2 separate regions of the Homo sapiens genome follow, and region 2 is linked to region 1. The links are contacts of gene promoters, found by promoter capture Hi-C in human tissues and cell types (Jung and others, 2019). All regions are on one chromosome and are shown on one strand. Each heading gives the region's core, a stretch centred on a gene start or on the middle of the fragment in contact. The rest is flanking DNA. Distances are from core to core; before and after follow the strand shown.

The links. The method cuts DNA at HindIII sites, captures the fragments that hold promoters and counts their contacts. A contact is called where the count stands out against the background at its distance.
Region 2: a contact is called between a fragment that was not itself captured here and the fragment with the promoter of ADIRF in region 1, in 1 of the 25 tissues and cell types used here (thymus).

What each region holds. Positions count from the first base shown.
Region 1 is chr10:86,963,838-86,971,544 of GRCh38, reverse strand. ADIRF (adipogenesis regulatory factor) reads right to left here and starts at 3,063. Exons shown (of 3, transcript NM_006829.3): 1 at 2,940-3,063; 2 at 1,283-1,345; 3 at 630-1,069. The coding sequence starts at 3,000. The coding sequence ends at 963. ADIRF-AS1 (ADIRF antisense RNA 1) reads left to right here and starts at 305. Exons shown (of 2, transcript NR_170185.1): 1 at 305-2,503; 2 at 5,217-6,258. It overlaps LOC124902474, which reads right to left and starts at 140. Exons shown (of 3, transcript XM_047426123.1): 1 at 1-140. The coding sequence starts at 140. AGAP11 (ArfGAP with GTPase domain, ankyrin repeat and PH domain 11) reads right to left here and starts at 1,209. Exons shown (of 11, transcript NR_171046.1): 1 at 630-1,209. RefSeq lists silencers at 1-377, 1,959-2,253 and enhancers at 1-775, 612-1,363, 1,364-2,117, 3,624-4,376, 4,357-4,536 and 3 more. The HindIII fragment of the contact is 7,922 bases long and covers 2,086-7,707 here.
Region 2 is chr10:86,912,585-86,918,788 of GRCh38, reverse strand. BMPR1A (bone morphogenetic protein receptor type 1A) reads right to left here. Exons shown (of 13, transcript NM_004329.3): 9 at 1,463-1,655. Among named protein-coding and RNA genes, the nearest start is that of MMRN2, 42 kb to the left of the region's middle. The HindIII fragment of the contact is 5,173 bases long and covers 3-5,175 here.

The sequences.
Region 1 (7,707 bases), core at 1,814-4,313:
CGTGCCGGGGGGGTGCTGGGAACACCAGTCCATCCGGAACCCACTAGACAAAACCTTCCAGGGCCGGAGGTTACCGGTTTGTCCCGAAAGGAAGTGGTGTGGAAGGGAGGGGTCTCCCGCACGCGAGCGCGCACGTGCATGCCCCCCCCACAACCGTGCTTCGTTCTCACGTGCACGGCCCCGTGCCCCGAAGCCCCTCCCCGGGGAGTGGCGGGGCGGGACCCCGCCGGGCGGCAGCGCCCCACTCAACAAAGCTTCCCGCGGGCCCTGCCCCATGACTCACCGCTGGGTGGGGCGGGCACGCAGGCAACCCGCGGGCCGAGACGGGGTAGTGAGGGCCGGAAGCCCGGCTCCCGACTCCGCTTCGTCCCCACAACCTCCGGCCGCCTGAAGTCCTGAGGGGCCGTGGCCCTGGGTCGTCTCCCCTGTTCCCAGCCTCCAGTCGCAGCTGGCGGAGAGAAGTTCCCGAGGCCCCCCCGACTTGCAAGGTCCCTTGCCCCGCCCAGAGCTGAGCCTTCCGAGGATCTGAGGACCGAGTCCAGCCCAGCTCCCAGGAGGGGCCGGGATCCTGGGGCAGGGAATAAGGGGCAGGGGCTGGCTCTAAAGTCGGGCGGGAGAGGGGCACTAACCGAGATGGGGGCTGAGCCTCCGGTCTGGGAGCTTCGGGAGGCGCGTGGCGGGATGGAAAACATTCCTGAGACCGTTGGATTGGATTTCCGAATTTGGGAGGCTAGGACTCCGGCTACGGTGGCTCTGCTCTTGGGATGAGAGGACTGGGCCCAGCTTGCGAGGAATCATGAAGTGGACACAGGGTGGGAACGTGAATTTTAATGAGGGGGCAGACCGAGGAGGTGGTGGCTGCCCGGAGATCAGGGCCAGGCTGTGCTAGATGGCGCCTGGAAGGGGGGTCACCCAAGTCTCCCTGCTGTCATTTCAGGAGGCCGACCCAAGTCTCCCTGCTGTCATTTCAGGAGGCCGAATTTTTTCCCAATCCCAGAGAAGGTGTCAGAGGCCTGGTTAGCAGTCTTGTCGATGGTTTCCTGGGTGGTCTTGGCCAGCTGGTCCATGGCTGGGGAAGGGCGGGAGAGAGGGCAGGTCAGGCAGGGCCCGGGAACCACAGTGCCTGTAGGCTTAGCCTGGCCTGGGTCTCCCGGGGGACCTGCTTGGGGCATTGTGGACAGAGGGCTCTGCAGAGGAGAGGATGTGCCTGGGCCCCAGCCGGGATGGGGCGGGGAGTGGGAGGTGTGCTGGGGTTGCCCGCCTCCCTCCAGCCCCACCAGACCTTTCTGCCCCGCCTCTGTGGCCTGGTCCACCACTTGCTGAGCTGCCGCTCCGGCCGCTGACACTGGAACAGAGAGATGTGGCTTTTAGCCCCTGTTGAGGCACCACCGACTACAGGTGCCCCACCATTGCCATGCCTCTGTGTCCTCCAGAGTATTCGGTGGTACAGGTCCAAGGGATGGATGCCATGGAGATAAAGTCCCTGGCCCAGGGCCCCCCAGCCCGAGGGGCAGGAGACCTTTCCATGCCTCTGGGATGTTTTTGTTTATTTCTAACTCTGAGCTCCTTCTCTGTGGGGGAGGAGCTTCCCTTTCCATCTCCAGGGCTACTGAGAAAATGTTGGACAGAGGAAGGAAGGCAGGGCAGGGCCAGGCTGCAGCTAGCATCTGGACTGTTGGCTAATGCTGGTGATGGCGCAGAAGACCCTTGCCCCCTTTTACAGCTTCTCCCCTAGAAGCCTGGCCCAGATGCCTGAATTCCCACCTTTCATGCACTTAGCCCTGGGGCTTGCAGTTTTGCCAGGTCCTTACTGCCTCCTCCCTCCTGTGGCCTGCCCGGAGGGGCACACAAGCAAAGCCAGTGCCTCTGTGGACAGGCAGCTTAAGACATTAGGAGACAAATGAAGGAAGGAGGCAAAACTTCCAAGGCCGGACTATCTCCTCTGGACCAGAGTTTCGGCCTGCTGGGAATGGAGTCACCAGCCCCGGGGGGGCTGACAGGTGGCTCCCGCCTACAGAGCTGTAACTCATCCCTGCTGCTGAACAGGAAAGGGCCTGCCTTACCCAGATCCCATCCTCCGGAAAGGGTTAGTCAGGCAAGTGTGCTGAGAGGCCCCTGGGAACCTCGTCTCGATTAACCCATCAGAAAGCAGCCCATCCTTTGCACCCAGCTCTCAGATGGAAAAGTGAAGCCCAGAAGGAAGGGACCTGACACGGAGGCTTCCTTGGTAGCATTTCAGTCTCAAGGGAAGAACTGTGGGCCTCCCCTGGAGCACTGGTGAAGTAAGGGGTTGGTTTGGATATTGTCTCCTGACTGGGATATGGGCAGGACTGACAGGGAGCTGGAGTCCTAACGAAGCCTGGGCTAGGTGCAGGAAGAACCAACCCAGTGGTCTCCTGACATCTCCCACGCCCCCACCGCAGCTGGGTCACCTCCAGAATACGGAGGAGAGAGCTGGAGGTGGAGGAACTAAGGACCTTCTTTGCCAGGTGGGGACTTAAAGGTAAGGCGACGATTACTTTTCGGCGATGGGGGTGGGATGGAAACAAAGCCCTTTGAGGTCTGGGGCAGCCTCTGGTGGCGCGCGCGGGTTTAAGTGGTGGCGGGCCGCGCCCGATCCCTGTCCTGGACCTTCACCCTCTCCTGAGGGCCTGGGCGGGCCGCCCAGCGCCAGCATGGCCTCCTTGGAGGGGCTCCCGCAGTGCCCGCAGCGCAGCTCCGGCTCCTCCGGAGCCTCTGTTCCGCTGCCTCCCTGCGGGCACCATCTGTCTGCTCGCCGGGGTGGGCGTTCTGCCTGCCCCCTGCGTCTCAGTGGAGGACCGAGCCTTCCGAGCCAAGCTGCCGGTCCAGGAACTTGCGGACCGCGCCGACCCGCTGCTTCTGCCTGCGCATCCACGCAGGTGCCCCTGCCTGAGCCCTAGGTCGCGCGCTATCCTCACCGGCTTCCTGGGCGGTCCCCTCCACCTGTTGCTTCAGGTCCTGCAAGCCCTTGCTTGCCATGGCTTCGGGGTATCTGTGGAGTCGTCAAGAGCAGCTGGAGCGACGTTGGATCCTGCCCAGAGTGGCGATGCCAAGCGCCAGCTCCGGTTTTTAAGGCGCCCCAGGGCTGGCCTGCCCCGCGTAGGGGAGAGGGCGCGGGGCGGTTCCCGTCATACAGGCTCCGGGGAGTGGCCGGGCCCTGCTCCAGAGTCCGCAGGGCAGGGAGCACATCCTGGCCTAAGACGGGCCGCGGTGGGAAAGGGGCAGACCGAACCAGGGACCGAAGAGGTGCCAGGACAGGGGTCCAGAGAGGAGCTGGAGGCAGGAGAAGGGCGCACACCACCTCCCAGCTCATCAGCCCCAGCCCTCCCTTTCTGATCCTGGGCGTGAGCGCTGGGTCAGCTCCAGGGCAGGAGCTCAGGGCTGGTGTTGACCTTAATGACAGCAGTGGTCTTTTACTGAGCATTTGTCTTGTGCCAGGTGCTGCCTAACGCTCTGCAGTCTCTTGTATAATCTTTACAACCACCTCCTGAAGTGGGTATTTTTGTTGATAGCATCAGTGTATAGGAGGAAACTGAGGCAGTGAGGTCGGTCTCACCCAAACGCATGTGGCAGGGACTTGGATCCTCGAATCTGCCTAGGTGCCTGTAAACCCTAGGGCTCTGGCATCATCGGAGCCCCCAGCCCCAAACAGCTGCAGGGGCACTGCTGACTGGCTCTCTGCCTGTAGCCAGAGACCCAGTGGATGCAGCCGGAGAGGGCCTGGTAAATCTTTCCCCTGAGAGGGCGAGATACAGGTGTGTGCACTTGCAGACCATGCAACCCCAAGGGGGAGAGGGCAGTGTGCCTGTGCAGCCCAGGCAAGGAGATTGCCGTCTGTCACCGAAGCCTTAGGAAGTTGGGCAGGAAGCATGGCTCAGGGAGGGCAGGAATAAGCTTGGGCCTCTCAGGTCACCTTTCCTGAGATGGGGCAGGCAAGGCGCTAGAGAGTATGACTTGTGGCTGTTAGGAGGGGACTTAGGGACCTGGGCCTGAGTGGAGAAGATCATCCTTGGGTGCAGCAAAACAGCTTGCAAGATACATTCCCCTGGCACACAAGGGGTGTAGGTCAGGCCCCACCCAGCTGGGTATACTCCCACTCCAGAGTAGGCCTTCAGGACCTGGAGGCCAGTGCACACCCACCCTGCCTTTCTGGGTCTCTCTACCGCTTCCTGTCCGGGGCTGTTTCTTGCACCTCTGCTGGTGTCTCCCCTATTCTGGAGCGCTGGGAAGCCCCTGCCACACAGGCTTGGTCTGCTGGCACATACCCTGCTTCTAGTGCTGCGGGGTCAGCCCCTAGAGGGAGTTGTTTGGAAGTGCACCTGTACACACACACACACACACACACACACACACACACACACACACACACACACGGTATGGATTAATGGAGATGAGGTCAACCCTGGGCAAAGGGAAGAGGCAGGTGATGAGATTAGGTGGAGGAAGGGGGAGGGAGCAGGTCTCAGGCAAAACAAAGCGGCAGCAACAGTCCTCCCAGCCCCCCGCCCCTCCTCTCCCAGAGCGAGGCCTTGCCCTGGGAGCGGCCATATGGATGCCTTGGGGACTCTGGGGAGCCCATCTCAGCCATGCCCTGCCTGGCTGGCCACAGCCCTGCCAGCCCTCCTGAAATCCCACCGGTAGTGCCCAATAGCCAGGCAGGCCTTCGAGTGTTCCAGTTTATCACAGGCTGGTGGTGCCACTGGGCTCCAGGCCCCATGGGCAATGAGCTGTGAGCTGGACAGGAAGGGAGCAGCCTCTGTGGGAAGAGACAGCCAGCCCCCAGCAGATGGTGGTAGAGAGAGCTCCACGTGGCCCTAGCGGCAGGCACTACAGTCAAACCTCTTGGGTTCAGATATTCTTAGAGCAAGCCCCTCACTTCTCTGAGCCTCAACATCCCCATCACATCACAGCGTCTCCCCAAAGTGTGTGTGTGAAGATTAAATTGGCTGAAGGGTGCCCAGGACTCAGCAGTGGACCTTGTGAGAGCGTGCAGGGCACCAGGGCTTCTCAGACAAGGAGAGGCAGAAGGAGGGAGCGCATTACCGCATTACCGTTTCCCCCACCCCCGCCCCAGTTTGCTGTGGTGTCACTTTTTTTTTTCCCTTTTTTTGTTTTTGGAGACAGAGTTTTGCTCTTGTTGCCCAGGCTGGAGTGCAATGGCGGGATCTTGGCTCACTGCAACCTCTGCCTTCCAGGTTCAAGCAGTTCTGCCTCAGCTTCCTGAGTAGCTGAGATTACAGGCATGAGCCACCACCCCCAGCTAATTTGTGATTTCGCTTTCTGCAGTTTCAGTTACTCATTGTTGGGGCTCAGAAACCAATACCCCGAAATATAGTGGTGTGACATTCTGAACTGAAGAAGCCTTAAGGTCTCTCCGACCAGACTCCCACAGGCCCCCCAACCCTTTGTCTCTTCCAAAGCATACAGTGAAGTTGTTCTCTGAAGTTCCTCATCTGCCTTAAGTCTGGACCCACCAAAGAAGAAAACAATGACCACTGGTCCCTTCCCGGAGTTTTCTCTGACTGAACTGCTGTCACAGGAAGAAAGACTGAAGCCTGCTCACATACCTGGACAGATTTTGCAAACCGTTGTCTGCTCTGTGAGCCCAACAGACTTTGTCCCAGGCCACTGTATGTTCTTCAAGCCCACTGAATTCCCCTGAAAATCATTTACTAGCCCCCTGAAATTACCCACACTTCCCCATTGCTCATCTGTACCCCATTTCGTGGTGGGGCAGTCACTCTGATTTCCCCTTGCATGCTAATGAATGTGTATTCCATTTCTATTCTGCTTTCATGAGCTGACTTTTCAGTGAACCTTCAGAGGGTAAAGGGGAAGTTTTCCCTTGGCCCCTGCACCGCAATTGGTAAGGTCCAAAATGTTAAATGGAAAATTCCAGAAATAGCTGGTCGTGATGGCTCCTGCCTGTAATCCCAGCACTTTGGGAGGCCGAGGTAGGTGGATAGCTTGAAGTCAGGAGTTCGAGACCAGCCTGGCCAACATGGTGAAACCCTGTCTGTACTAAAAGTACCAAAATTAGCTGGGCGTGGTGGCGCACGCCTGTAGTCCCTGCTACTTGGGAGGCTGAGGCAGGAGAATCACTTGAACCTGGGAGGCAGAGGTTGCAGTGAGCAGAGATCGCACCACCACTCCAGCCTGGATGACAGAGTAAGACTCCGTCTCAAAAAAAAAAAAAAAAGAAAATTCTAGAAATAAACAATTCATGTTTTAAATAACTTTCATTACAGTATATTGTTATAATTGTTCCGTTTTCTTACTGGTTATTGTTAGTCTATTACTGTGCCTAATGTATAAACTTCATCATAGGGAGGCACATGTGTACGTGTAGGAAGATACATATGTAGGCTTTGGTACTATCTGGGGTTGCAGGCAGCTGGAAACATCTTGAGTGTATCCTGGTGGATAAGGGGAGTCAACCGTGCTCCTGCAGGGAGGTCAGAAGCAGCCTCACAGGGTGCAGAGCACATGAGGTTTCAAAGGCAAAGAGCACTGCCAGTGCCCATGGCTGGGAAGGGGCTTTCTGGTGATGTTTGTCATTTGAGTCCAGGAACAAGCCCTGAGTGTATGTGAGAGGGGGTTGTAGGGGGGCTGTGGTAGGGGCAGCAGGGACCCCTCTGGGCTCCTCCAGCAGAGGCAGAGGGCCCTGAAACCTGGGGCAGGTTGTCGCTGGGAGCCGGGCATAGGTGCCCTCTCCCTCACCCCCATCACCTGACCAGCCTTGCTCCTCCTTGCTTTCTCTCACAGCCCAGGGGACTCTCGGGCACACCCAGGCCCCAGGTGGCCTCCTCCTGGGTTCATACAGGCCTGCTTAATGTGTACATGTCTGGGCTGGGGAGCAGGAACAGCCCTGACTGGCCTGAGCTGCTTCCAGACCCTTCATGCCTGCCCATGGCAGTGCTTGGGGATGTGGAGACCAGCAGCCCCCTGCTCCGTTCTGCCTCCTCAGTGGATGCCCATGGCCAGACAACAGATACAGCCTGGCTCCGCTGTGTCTGACTGGGCTCCCAGCCTCCTGGGCTGCCCTTGAATCCACTGCAGAGGCTGGATGGGGAGGCGGTGTGGACAGGGCAGTGTCTGAAGTCACATGTGGACGGACTCAAGCTCTGGCTCCAACACCCAGGCCTGAAGGCCTGGGGCAAGGCACTGAGATGCTTTGAGCCCAAACCATCTGAGTATCAAAGGGGAAGCCAGGATCCCCAGGGAACCCTGGTCTGAACAAGCCCGCCCGGCATGCAAGGCTTTAAAACAACCCAGGACACGCTGGCCAGTGGCCTACATGATGGGTGGTTTGCGTCGTGCCCGGCAGGCTTGTTCAGAGTGGGCTGGGCAAACAGCCTTTCATGTAGGCCACTGGCCAGCAAGCCCTGGGTTGTTTTGAAACTTTGGGTTGGGGGCAATCCACTGTAAGCACCTTGGGGTCCATGCAGCCATAGCAGGGCTGGGGAGCCACCTGGGCTTCTGCCCAGTCCTGTGCGTCTCAGCAAAACCTGGATCTACAGCTCCAACCTGAGAGGTTTATTCTGAGGATTAAATAAGGTGAAGTGCTCAGAACAGTGCCCAGTCAACGCCTGTGAGGACCTCAGCAGCTGTTGCTTTTTACTATTTTTCTGTCAAGGTGCGGCTTCGTGCGTCTCTGCTGTTGTGTTTTTGGTGGCAACTGGCAGG
Region 2 (6,204 bases), core at 1,340-3,839, 52 kb after region 1:
TAGTTGGGCATGGTGGCAAGTGCCTGTGGTCCCGGCTACTCTGGAGGCTGAGGCAAGAGAATCACTTGAACCTGGCGGCAGAGGTTGCAGTGAGCCAAGATGGCGCCACTGCACTCCAGCCTGAGCGACAGAATGAGACTCCGTCTCAAAAAAAAAAAAAAGAAAAGAAAAGGAAAGAAAAGAAAAAGATGACATATTATACAAATAACCTGGAGAATATTATCAACCTACATGATTCTCTAGTAGAAAAGGCTCTCAATTTCAAAGCAAAAAGTGGACACTTTTATAAAATTAAGAATGTTCAACTAAGAGTTAGCTCCTAATTAAGCCAACTCCCATTTGCCCATCAGTGACTCATCACAGCTGCCTTTTCAGTCTGGCTCGTTGACTGCCAGGCCCACAGTCCTGCTCTTTTCCTTTCTCTCCTACCCTCTTCCCTCCAGAAAAAGGTCAGTGAGTGCTATGTACTGAGCTGAACAGTGCTCCCCGACAAAATTCATGTCTAAAATCCATGTCATCTATAAACGTGACCTTATTTGGAAAGAGGGTCTTTGCAGATGTAATCAAGTTAAGATGACTCATACAGGATTAGCGTGGGCCCGAATTCAATGGCTGGTGATGTTGTAAGGTGGAAATGTGGACCCAGGCACCCAGGGAGAAGGCCACCTGATGACAGAAATGGAGACTAGAGTGTTGTCTATACTAAGCCAAGGAACACCAAAAATTCCTGGCCACCAACCAGTAGCCAGAGGAGGCAAGGAAGGCTCCTCCTCTAGAGTATTCAGAGACACAACAGCTCTGCCAACACCTTGGTTTTAAACTTCTAGCCTCGAAAACTGAGTGAATACGTTTTGGAGGTTGAAGCCACCCAGTTTGTGGTAATTGATACAGCAGCCCTAGGAAACTAATACAATTGCCTGCTTGGCAACATGCTATGGGCTCTCCAAATTAAAGGGAGGAAAACAAGAGGTGAAGGGAAAAGAAAACTCAGGATAGCCAGATCGGCTTATGTACCTGACTGACCAGCTCACACCTAAATTACTTTGCTATTGTGTAAATGTGGAGATGGGGGGAAACACACATTAAACACAGAACGTACAATGAAACTGCATGTTGGGCTGTTGAGCTTATGAAAGGGAAAAGGCACATATGTTAATGTTACCCTAAATCACTGCTTAAGTTATCTATAAAAGACTGGGTTTTCATTACTATGGGAGTAAGTCCAATAAACTAGTATTATTTTCCATTTGAAACTCACTGCTGTTTCTTCAGCTGGTTAGTAAAGAAAGATCTTGGTTGGCATTCCGGACTATGTTTTATTCAAACCGTGTATTCTACTAGGTTTCCTTTAGCCAAATGTATATAGTTGAACTCACACATTTTCAAAGCACATATGGAGGCTTCCACCTGTACCTCACTAGCCTTGTCAAAAATGAAATTGACTGAATCAGTGTGTACCCACCAAGTATGTTTTCATGGCGCATTAGCACAGTTTGGTAGATTTCTGTTTCTCGAAACCAGCTGGCTTCTTCAGTGGTAAAGAATACTTTCACCGCCACTTTTTCGCCACGCCATTTGCCCATCCATACTTCTCCATATCGGCCTTTACCAACTTGCCGGACCATCTGAATCTGTTTGGCAATAGTTCGCTGAACCTTTATAGAAAAAAGTAAAAGGTTTGAGCTCTTGATGAAAGAAACCCATTAAGACTGGCAAAGGGGTAGTCCATCTCATCAAAAAGCATGGTGTACCCAACCAACTCCAGTTAAAAACTTATAATGTACTTTTTTTTTTTTGAGATGGAGTCTCGCTCTGTCACCCAGGATGGAGTGCAGTGGCGCGATCTCGGCTCACTGCAACCTTCACCTTTTAGATTCAAGTGATTCTCCTGCCTCAGCCTCCCAAGTAGCTGGGATTACAGACACCCGCCACCATGCCCAGCTAATTTTTTTGTATTTTTAGTAGAGATGGGGTTTAGCCACGTTGACCAGGCTGGTCTTGAACTCCTGACCTCAGGTGATCCACCCCACCCCCGGCCTCCCATAATGCTGGGATTACAGGCGTGAGCCACCATGCCCGGCCATAATGTACTTTAAAGTATGAAACAATGTACAATGTATTCTGAAATCATAAACAGGTTATTCAAGTGGCTGGCTGTTTGCAAAAATGGTCATAATAATTACCCTCCCAGTGCACACAGTCGTGGGTAGTCTTGGTCCACAGACTCAGGGCTTAGGCCACATGACTTGCTTTGGATAAAAGAACAACAGCGAACGTGATGCAAGCAAAGACCTGACAAATGTTTGTGGACTGGGGCTTGCCCCCTTCCTGCTGCTTTGGGAACCCTGTGACCAAAAAATAATGGCAGCATGAACTGTCGGCCAAGGGTGTGAACTACACCACCTAGCTCTAGCTAAGCAAGTCCAACAAATGAACTGCCCCACAGACTCACAGAATGAGAAATAATGTTTGTTGCTTCACATCACTAAGTTTTGGGGTGGTTTATTATGCAGCAAAGTCCAAATAACAGTTAAAGATCTTAAAAATCCCATCTATAAGACCCTGCCTGATCTGGCCTGGTCCCATTATTTGCTTTGACCACCCACCCACAAACCTCGTTTGACTTATCTCAACTTTTAGAATTCACTCAAGCTTATTCCTGTCGCTGGGTTTTTTTGAATATCCAGTTCCCTTTACTTAGAGTGCTATTTTCTCACTTAAACACCTTCATAGCACACAAAACCTCTCAGTTGCTGCGCTTAACACAATCATAACTTTATTCTTATTTACATATATATTTGCTTGAATTCCATCCCCTGCTCACAGAATATAAGTATTTATTTGGGACAATATCAGAAGTACTTTAATATTTGTTAAATAAAAGATGTACATGGATTGTTATCTTTCATTTTCAGAAGCATTAGTGATCATTCTAAATTAAAAAGAACATTATGCTCCAAGTTGGAAATGCTTCTAAAATGGACTAGATTTAGTGCAAAGCTAAAGTGACTTTATGTATCATTTATTATAGAATCCTTTTGTAAATTTTGTTCTGTTTTTTTGAGACAGAGTCTCGCTCCGTTGCTCAGGCTGGAGTGCGGCGGCCAATCTCAGCTCACTGCAACTTCTGCCTCCCCAGTTAAAACAATTTCCTGCCTCAGCCTCCCGAGCAGCTGGGATTACAGGCATCTGCCACCACGTCCAGCTAATTTTTGTATTTTTAGTAGAGACAGGGTTTCACCATGTTGGCCAGACTGGTCTCGAACACCTGACCTCAAGTGATCTGCCTGCCTCAGCCTGTAAGTTTTTAAGTCAAGATTATTGAGGTATAATTTATATAAAATGTACCCTTTTTGAGAAAAGTTCAACAAGCCTTGGACAAATCTATATCATGTAATCACCAATACCACAATTAAGATACAGAATATTTTAATAACGTAAAAAAATTCTCACTTTTTGGCCAGGCGTGGTGGCTCACGCCTGTAATCCCAACACTTTGGGAGGCCGAGGCGGGTGGATCACCTGAGGTCAGGAGTTCAAGACCAGCCTGGCCAACATGGTGAAACCCTGTCTCTACTTAAAAAAAAATACAAAAATTAGCTGGGCATGGTGGTGCATGCCTTAATCCCAGCTACTTGGGAGGCTGAGGCAGGAGAATCACTTTTGTGTAGCCTTTTGTGTCTGGCTTCTTTCATGTAGCATAAAGTACTTTTGAAATTCACCCACTGTTGCTGCTACATGTGTTAGAAGTTGTTCCTTTTTACTGATGAGTAATATTCCACTGTATGAATGTACCAGCATTTGTTTATTCATTTAGCAATTCATGAGCTTTGGGGTTGTTTCCAGTTTATGTCTATTATAAATAAAACTGCTATAAACATTCACATTCAGGCCTCTGGTGTGGACAAGTTTTCATATCTCTTGGGTAAATAATTAGCAGAAGGATTGCTTCATTGTACGGAAAGTATGCCCTTAACTTTCCAGGCAATTGTCAAACTATTTTTCAAAATAGCCATACCATTTTGCATTCCAACCAGCAATGTATGAGATTTCTAGTTGATCTACATCTTTGGCACCACTTAATATTATCAGTCTTAGCTATACTAGTGGATGTGCAGTAGTATCTTACTGTGTTTAATTTGTATATCCCTGCTGATGCTGAGCATCTTTTCATGTGCTTGTTTGCCATTCTTATATCTTCTTTGGGGAAGTGTCTGTTCAAATCTTTTGTCCATTTTTTAAAAAAATTGGGTTATCTTATTATTGAGTTGCAAAAGGTCTTTATATATTTTGCACAAAAACCCTGTATCAGATCTGTTTTGCCAATCTGTGACTTGTCTTCTCATTTTCTTGTCTTCTAAATAGCAGAAGTTTTAAATTTTGATAAAGCCTGATTTATCATTAAAAAAATGATTTGTGTTTTTTATGTACTGAAGAAGTCTGCCCAAGGTCAGAATAATTTTTTCAGACATTTTCTTTTAGAGGTTTTATACTTCAACTTTTACATTTAGGTCTATGCTACATTTCAAGTTAATTTGGTATAGAGTGAGGAGGTAAGGACTGAGATTAACTTCTTGGTAAATGGATTCCTGATATTTCCTGCACCATCTGTTAAATGGACTGCCTTTTTCCAATTGAATTACTTGGGCATCTTTTTGTTTTTTTTTTTTTAATCAATTAACCATATTAAGTGCATGTTCCTTTCTAAACTCCATAATCTGTTCCATTCATCAATACATCTATCCTTATGCCAGTACCAAATTGAGATCATTATTGAGTTTTACGGTAAGTCCAGAAATCAGGTAGTGATTCCTCTTTGTTCTTCTACTTCAAAATTGTTTTGGCTCTTCTAGTCCTTTGCATTTCCATATAAATGTTAGAATATACATCAATTGCTATAAAAGTTTGCTCTGATTTTCATTTGGATTCGAATGAAATTACACACCAATTTGAGGAAAACTGAAATCTTAATACTGAGTCCTCAGATTTATAAACATCTCCACTTATTTAGGGCTTTATTAATTTCTTTCAGCAATGTTTTATAATTTTCAGTGTGCAGGTCTTGCATAAATTGTTAGGCTTATTCTAAATATTTCATGGTTTTTGATGCTATTTTAAATACTGTTTTTATAATTACCTAATTGTTTGTTGCTAGAGCCTATAAATTCAATGGTATTTGTACAATGACTCTGTATTCTGCAACCTGATAAAGTCATTTACTGGCTGCAGTAGTTTTATTGTACCATTCTTGGGATTTTCTACGTAAACAATCATGTTGTCTGCCTATGAAGGCAGTTTTACTTTTACCTTTCCAATTCAATTAGAGTTATTTAATAAGATGAATTTCAAAATTAGAGATCAGGGTGGGTGCGGTGGTTCACACCTGTAATCCCAGCACTTTAGGAGCCAAGGTGGAAGGATCAGTTGAGGCCAGGAGTTTGAGACCAGCCTGGCCAACATGGAGAAACCTCATCCCTCAAAAAAAAAAAAAAAAAAAAATTAGCCTGGTGTGGTGGTGCATCTGGTAATTCCAGCTACTTCGGAGGCTGAGACGGGAATTGCTTGAACTTGGGAAGCAGGGGTTGCAGTGAGCCGAAGACTGGGCCACTGCACTCCAGCCTGGGTGACAGAGCAAGACTATCTCGATACGATTAAAATAAAATAAAGTAAAATAAAATAAAATAAGAAGAGATCAGTTTCTTTCAACTAATACAATTAAAAACTTAAACCTATCTGGATATCTAGTGTTCATAATACAGGTCCTCTCAAATAAGAGTTCCTTCAACCCAAAACTGAGTATTTCCATATATAAATGAACCTGCTGGGATTATTTTTTTTTCCCTGATACCAAGAATCCATCCAAATTTGTTGGAATTTATTTGTAATTCCCTTTAAAATTATTTTTTATTGAACTATGTGTTTTGGTAGTAGTATATTGAGAGAAGCATCCTCTCTAAGAATATCTGTTGAAACTTCTTTTTTATTTCAGAATCTGAAATAGTTACAGTTCCCTCAATCAATCAGTTTAAACTTACAGATGCAAGGAATCTTATACCTGATTCCTCTTTAAGTTGGCTGGTAAAATGCTTAGAGCAAAACTTGTGAGCTAACTCTTGCCTTTCATATAGGACTTCGTGATCTAACTTCCCCTGCCTTTCTCTGTAGGACTTGGTTCCTATAACCTGGTTTATAGCTCTATCTTAC